Regions from separate parts of the Homo sapiens genome. Here region 2 is linked to region 1. The links are contacts of gene promoters, found by promoter capture Hi-C in blood cells and fetal thymus (Javierre and others, 2016). All regions are on one chromosome and are shown on one strand. Each heading gives the region's core, a stretch centred on a gene start or on the middle of the fragment in contact. The rest is flanking DNA. Distances are from core to core; before and after follow the strand shown. Region 1 holds the start of NDUFS4 (NADH:ubiquinone oxidoreductase subunit S4). Region 2 overlaps ARL15 (ARF like GTPase 15).

Region 1 (3,760 bases), core at 698-3,197:
CATTAAGATTTTTTTTCAAGATTAAATGATTTATTTTCAAATCTCTTACATTTGCAGGCAAAAACTCTTAAGTTTGGATATGTAGTAACAATTATCATCAGAGTTTCAAAAATCTAATCTCAACTTCAATTACTATAATTGCTGACAAAATGGCTTTGACTTAAAATTACAGCCATGTTTTGATTAGCCATAAACCAGTGGTCCCTTCAAACTTGTTTTCAGTTCTGGGGCTACCATGAGTACATTATTATCTGGGAATGACAATTAATCCCTATAATCTGTACGGGAGGAAGGGCTAATCTTGGTCACCGCTATATTAACTCTAAGTTAACCAGTGAAGTATTTTACCTTAGAAAAATACTTAACCCAGCCTGACCAACATGGTGAAACCCCGCCTCTACTAAAAATACAAAAATTAGCCAGGTGTGGTGGTGCGCGCCTGTAATCCCAGCTAGTCAGGAGGCTGCGGCAGGAGAACTGCTTGAACCCGGGAGGCGGAGGTTGCAGTGAACCAAGATCACGCCATTGCACTACAGCCTGGGCGTCAGAGTGAGAATGTATCTCAAAAAAAAAAAGAGAAAGAAAAAGGAAAAATACTTTCCATATATGGAACACTTAATTACAAACATCATTTGCCTTTCCCCAATCTTAGCACCCTTACTTTTGAGTGACTCTATTCTATGTATTTAGTAATCGTTTAACTAATGCTTTCAAGCCTTTTCATAAGCCACGGACCCTACGGGACACTCTCTTCTTTCCCACCCAACACCCACTATATTTAAACCTTAATAAAACTCATCCTTAAAAATTCTTCCGAATTAACTCATCCTAATTCTCTGCATTCCATTTATATTTAACACTAAATCAATTAGCATTCTACTAGACCTTCCTTTCAACTTTTAACCACTTGCATCCACCTCCTACCCCCTTCAAATCTCTCCATCCAGTCTTTCCAATCTTTGTTCTAATATGTGTGTGTATGTACGTATAGCATTAGTACTATAATTTAAAAAACTCCAGGAAATTCTGAAAAATAGAAAATGGAAGGTTAATACAGCCAAAAAAAAAAAAATCATCACAAAAATGCTTCAAGGAAAAACAGTAACAACTCAATCAACTGACAACTGAATCTGACAATACTTTGGAAAAGTACTACTTTAGGTTCTCAAGGACGCAAAGAGCCCTCAACAACTCAATTCAATCCCTGAATTATTGTGAGGCTTTAACAAAATCCCTAGAAAACCTCCAGGCATTACCACCAGCCTTTTAAAAATTACCTTCCAATATTACTAGCAGTGATATTTTTACTAACACTGAATTCCAAACAAGTTTTCCTCCCAAGCAGACTGATGAATAAACAATCTTCCTATGCAGAAACCAAATTAAAACCACTTAAAACCATGGAAGGGATACAGTGATTTAACCCTTCTGTAAGGACTGGAGTGGTGGGCAAACAGGTGACAAATGGAAGGGATGCAGAAAGTGGAAACAGAAATCAGTGAGACTCCTCCCCTTCTCTGAGGGCTAAGGTTCAGCTTGCAGCTCCGGAGGCAAAACCTCCACGGACCCTCTCCCTCAGCGACAAGCCGAATACGAAAGCTTCCAGAAAACCACAGGTCCTCCTCCCCGGCCTCGCACTCACGCCCTCACTCGCCTGGCCAACGCCCATTGATAGCAGACAGTCCCTAGTCCGCCCGACTTCTCCCGAGAAAAGGGTCAACAGAGGACGCCTTCCCCGAGGCCTCCTCCGGAACTCAGCCAGCAGAGACTCCGCAAAAATGGAGGGACCCAAGAAGCTTGAAGAAAAGTGTGAAAATTCTATTACCTGGTCGGAACCCTGGAAACGGAAAGGGCAGCTACAGCCACTGCCCTTCTCCGCCACAACGTCTGCCTCAGTACCACTGACATTGACACCGCCGCCATCTTGCTGCAGGCAAACGCCAGGATGAAAGGACGGATCACCGCAAGGGACTAACTTCCTTCGTTCTCAAGCCAGTGCAATCGCAATGTTGCGAAATTCTTTGGGATTTTATTTTCTTTTTAATACTGGGGCTTAAAAAAAGAGGGGAAACGCTTAGTTTAAATAAGTAAGAAGAAAAATGTGCGGGAAGAAATGCAGAAGTGCATTAACTGTAAATATTACCACCATAAAGTGTAATCTTTACTGCTTGTTAGGACTGGTGTTTTACAATGATAACGAAAAGACCAAAATATACTTGCATATTTAAACACCTGCAACTCGTAATTTATTGAAGAAATTAGGATATTTGGGGCTGAACCCACTGGAAAAGCTGGAGAGCTCTTTGGGTCCTTGAGAACCTGCAGTAGTACTTTTCCAAAGTATTGCCAGATTCACTTTGCAAGCCCTCAGGACAGGGCTGTATTCAGTTTGATATTCTGTAGTAGTAATGTTCGTATTTTCCAAACGAAAAATCTGGATACGTGATCTGGCAAAGGATTATTTTTTGACATGTAGATTTATATGAAGAATCAATAGAACATAATATTTGATGTCACTGTTTCCCCAGTAAATCCTGAATGTGTGTGTGTTCATAATCCATAGACATGAAGAATGATATTAATGCTCCATGCATATAAAACAAAAATTATCTTCCAATACAAGTGTTGGAAACATGTTTGTATTGTGGACTTCCGACCTTAAAGAATAATGACTAACTGAATTATATAAAATAAAAAGCAGGTTAGTTTTGGGTTTTGTTTTTTAAGAAATTTGTTTAAAGAGTTAGTACTTTCCTGCTTTTAAAATTAAGCACATGAAAACATAACCTTCATTAAATAAATAGGAACAATAGGAGGATGGGGAATGACATAGTTTGGCATTATGGACCGTTAAAGGAAAACCCAGTACATAAGGGAAAGGGAGAAAGAAAGAGAAAAAGTCATACTCAGGGAAAGAAATGCACAAGATGAAGGAAGGCAAGGGAGAGATGCCTCAGAGAAAATTTTCTTTCAAACTTTTCATTTTGAAATAGTTATAGATTCACATGAAGTTGCAAAGATAGTACAGATGTCTTGTGTACCTGTTTCCCCCAGTGATTACATCTCGTATAACTCTAGTACAGTATCAAAGCCAGGAAACTGGCATTGATATAAAGTATTTGTGTAGTCCTATGTCATTCTACTACATATTTTGTGTAACCACCACCATGATCAAGATACAGAACTATTCCACCCTCACAAAGATCTCCCTAGTGCTAACCTTTTTGGTAACACCTGCCCTCCTAACCCTAGTGATCTCTGTTTCTGTTTTTATAATTTTGACATTTTGAGATGTTATATGAATGGACTCATGCAGTACATGACCTTCTAAGATTGGCTTCTTTCACTTGGCATAATGCACTTGAGACCCATCCAAGTTGTTGTGTTTATCAATAGTTCATTCCTTTTTTATTGCTGAGTAATATTCCATGACATGGATGTACCACAATTTGTTTAACCATTCACCTATTGCAGAACATTTTGATTGTTTCCCATTTGGGGCCATTACAAATAAAACTGCTGCAAACAATTGAATACAGGTTTTTATGTGGACAAAAATCTTCATTTCTCTGAGATAAATGCCCAGGAGTGCAATTGCCAGGTCATGTGATACATGTATGTGTCATTTTTTAAAGAAATTAAAAACTGTTTTCCAGAGTAACTGTAACATTTTACATTTCCTCCAGCAATGTATGAGAGATCCAGTTTCTCCATATCCTCACCAGCATTTTCTATTATTGCTATTTTTGTTTTAGCTGAG
Region 2 (3,650 bases), core at 691-3,190, 580 kb before region 1:
TTGGGCATTTTTTCACATGTTTGTTGACCATTTGTATATCTTCTTTTGAGGAATATCTATTCATGTCATTTGCCTATTTTTTGATAGGATTGTTTTTTTCTTGCTGATTTGTTTGAGTTCCTTGTAGATTCTGGATATTAGTCCTTTGTTGGATGCATAGTTTGCAGATTTTTTCTCCCATTCTGTGGGCTGTTTACTCTGATGATTATTTCTTCGGCTGTGCAGAAGCTTTTTAGTTTAATTAGGTCCCATTTATTTATTTATTTTTGTTTTTGTTGCATTTGCTTTTGGGGTCTTAGTCATAAATCCTTTGCCTAGACCAATGTCCAGAAGTGTTTTTCCTAGGTTTTCTTCTAGAATTCTTACAGATTCTGGTCTTAGATTTATGTCTGGATCCATCTTGGGTTGATTTTTGTGTAAGTGGAGAGGTAGGGATCCAGTTTTGTTCTTCTACATCTGGTCATCTTGTTTTCCAGCACCGTTTATTAAATAAGATGTCCTTTTCTCAATTTATATTTTTGTGTGCTTTGCCAAAGGTCAGTTGGTTGCGTTTAGCTTTATTTCTGCATTCTCTATCCTGTTCCATTGGTAATTTTTATTTTTATTTTTTTAGAGATGGGGTCTCACTATGTTGCCTAGGCTGGCCTCGAACTCCTGGCCTCAAGTGATTCTCCCACCTTGGCCTCCCGAAATGTTGGGACAGGCATGAGCCACTGTACCTGGATCGAGATCCTCCTATTTTAAGATGTGTGGTGGTACTCTTCTGGAAGAAAATCCTAAATATAATAATAGAGATTTATACATTAGTAACTCTTATTAAGTAATTTGTAGCATTACAAAAGAATTAGTGGTTTTATAAAAGGTTTCAAATTTTCTGTAAACATTGAAGTCTCAATACATATTAAGTTATTTGATTTGGCTGCGTATTTTCCAGACCATTTCTAAGGCATACTTTGACTCTAAAATTCTCTTTTGTAAGTGATTAGTCACTGCATGTTCTCCTCATATTATTTCCTCATCCTACTTTCCTTTAAAAAAAAAAAAAGCTTTCTCTCTTAAAATCCATGTTACGGGATTCAAAGCTTCTGAAATCCACCATGCCCAACTATAATATACAATTTAAAATTCACATTAAATTTCATTGGGAATATTCTTTATAGGCTGTGATGAAATTAAAATCTTACATACTCCTCCATTTATCATCTGGAACAATATCTCTGTGAACAAGGAACAAAAGAACAAAGAAATGATGGTTACAAGATAAGGAAATCTAGTAGGTAAGAGCCTGCACAATTTTGAGATAAAGTTCTGAATTTTTACTTTTCTTGTTTTTATATATTGTATCATGGTGTCTACCCCAGGTTTATTAGAGAAGCTGAAATATTAACCTTGATTGGCAGAGTGGCTATTATCGTTTTTATGTGTACTAGGCTAGGGCTGGGCCACCAGTTTAAAGAGGTGTCAACTGAGGAGTGGAAGAAAAGGTTGTGGCATGTCAGGTTATACCCTAAAAGTGTAAAGTCCCATGGCAATACAATGTGAGCCCTAATGCAGAAAATACTCTCAGAGGAACATGTCCTCTTTGCATAGCATCGCTGGGAATCTCGTCCAGGGAGTTCAATGGGGCAGGTCACCAGAGGAGGACACAAGGGGCAAGTGCAGGACGGCCATGTGCATCATTTGGCCCATGTGCTGACCATATGAAACCTGCTTTGGGACTGGAAAATGCCTGACATGGCTAACCTAGAATATATCACTTTGCTGGTTCCTGGCACCATCCTTGTTTTTAATGTGCAATGAGTGGCTGCTGTTGCACTGTTTGAACATTACTATGCCTTGCTGACCTAGGGGAGCCTGAAGCAAAAAAAAAAAAAAGGTTATCTACTGCAGTTCTAAATCAAATTTTAAAACAACAAAACATTTTAATATCTGTAGCTGGAAGGAGAATGTTTGGAGCTGTGCAACTGGCAGGCAAGAGTGTAGTGACTGAAGAAGAGATGATTCTTGGGCCAGTTTTGGACACAAACTGAACTAAACTAAAAAAAAAAAAAAAACCCAGGCAGACTGTCCTGTCTAGCTTCCCAGTAAAGTCAGAGGGGACAGTCCTGGCAGTACTATGGATTTGTATGCTGGGATAGATATAAACAGCAAAACTCTCAGCCCTGTGGCTATAAAAAGAATTATTTTTTATGATGTGTTCGTTGTTTAAGAGCAGGCTGTGAGTTTTGTTTAACATTTAATTCCAATACAGTTCAAAAACCAGAATTCTATCTTGTGTGCTTAAGCTCTTTCAGATGTTTTTATTGTGTAACATTTTCTCCAGATTCTTCTTTTAATGTATGTTTTTTTTTCCCTCACAATCTGTTAAAAGATCAGTTTGCGTGAATCTTGACACTGTGATGCTATTTCATGGTTTTAATTTGAATGCGAGCTGTTGCAGCTGGAAGCATATGATTAATGATACAGACTTGTTTGTCACAAAAACAGATGATATTTTACATTTAGTCAAGATGCATTGAAAAATTGACTTGCTTGTATTTTACTGGCTGTAAGTCACATTTTAATTCACTTTTGAATTCTCCTTATAATTTGAATTAATCTTAAACATGCAGATATATCTCTCATGATGTAGCTGGCTATTGAAGGTATTTGAAGGATGATTAGAAAATCGCATATTAAATATACATTATCCATTAGTTAAGTAGTCATTTTTAAAATTTTTTTTGCTGATAAAATTGTACTAAATGAGTCAATGAATCTGGGAGTCAGTATACAAAGAGAGTGGGAATAAAGCTTATAAATTCATTGTTCTTGATGGCTTATATATTTTTATATACTTTTACAGTTTACCTGAATAACAAGGTGATGTTTCTGATCTCCCTTGCCTTCTGCTGTCTTGAAACTCTGCCCCACATGAGACAAGGCAGTGTTTTCCAGATTTTCTACCATCACTCTGGAACTCAGAGTGGGCTATGGGTGCATTTGCTGCAGTGGGCAGTGGTCTAACCTGTCCTTCTCAGAAGCAGTGTCAGGAAAGTTGGGTATGCAGTCTCCTTCAGAAATGAGTCTTATAATAGCATTCTACCTTCCAGCAGTTTTTATCTCATAAAAGAATATGAAACCATATTTGTTAAATCAGACATTTCTTGCTCAAACCTGTTACACCAAATAGGAATTTGCTGTTTTCAAATCTCTGGCATGTGACTGAACTGAACAGTCCCAAACTGAGTACTTGCATGGTGAGGAAGTCAGTCTCAGAAAGTATGTATATATGCCATGTTTGAAGAGTTTTCATTATTATCATTCATTATAATTTACTAAAATGCAACTCTCTGTTTCTTTGTTAAAATAATCTTAGCTCTGCCTTGTGGAGCCACACTAACAAATAGTACAGCTCCCCTAGATAGTAATTGGGAAACATGAATTTAGGTGTCATGTATTCTGAAGGATCACTTTTCAATCTAATTATCTTCCATTTCTTCAACTATTTTTCCTATGATGTGGTCTCCAGGTCTATCACGATCCTCCTTGTCTCCTGGAGAAGTATTAAATTGTGGGGTCCCTTGTAAAATATGTGCCTAGAAGCATGATGCTATAGATGTGGTCTGACCAGTGATATTCATCTCTTTTTAGGTTTGCTTTTTCTTTTC

What was found. The method cuts DNA at HindIII sites, captures the fragments that hold promoters and counts their contacts. A CHiCAGO score of 5 or more calls a contact.
Region 2: a contact is called between a fragment that was not itself captured here and the fragment with the promoter of NDUFS4 in region 1, in 2 of 17 cell types (naive B cells and M0 macrophages). The highest score is 5.2, in naive B cells.

The regions. Positions count from the first base shown.
Region 1 is chr5:53,558,826-53,562,585 of GRCh38, reverse strand. It overlaps NDUFS4 (NADH:ubiquinone oxidoreductase subunit S4), which reads right to left and starts at 1,947. Exons shown (of 5, transcript NM_002495.4): 1 at 1,826-1,947. The coding sequence starts at 1,923. RefSeq lists an enhancer at 1,546-2,045. The HindIII fragment of the contact is 3,063 bases long and covers 1,799-3,760 here.
Region 2 is chr5:54,135,274-54,138,923 of GRCh38, reverse strand. The region is part of intron 3 of ARL15 (ARF like GTPase 15); the gene reads left to right. Among named protein-coding and RNA genes, the nearest start is that of ARL15, 170 kb to the left of the region's middle. The HindIII fragment of the contact is 1,711 bases long and covers 1,085-2,795 here.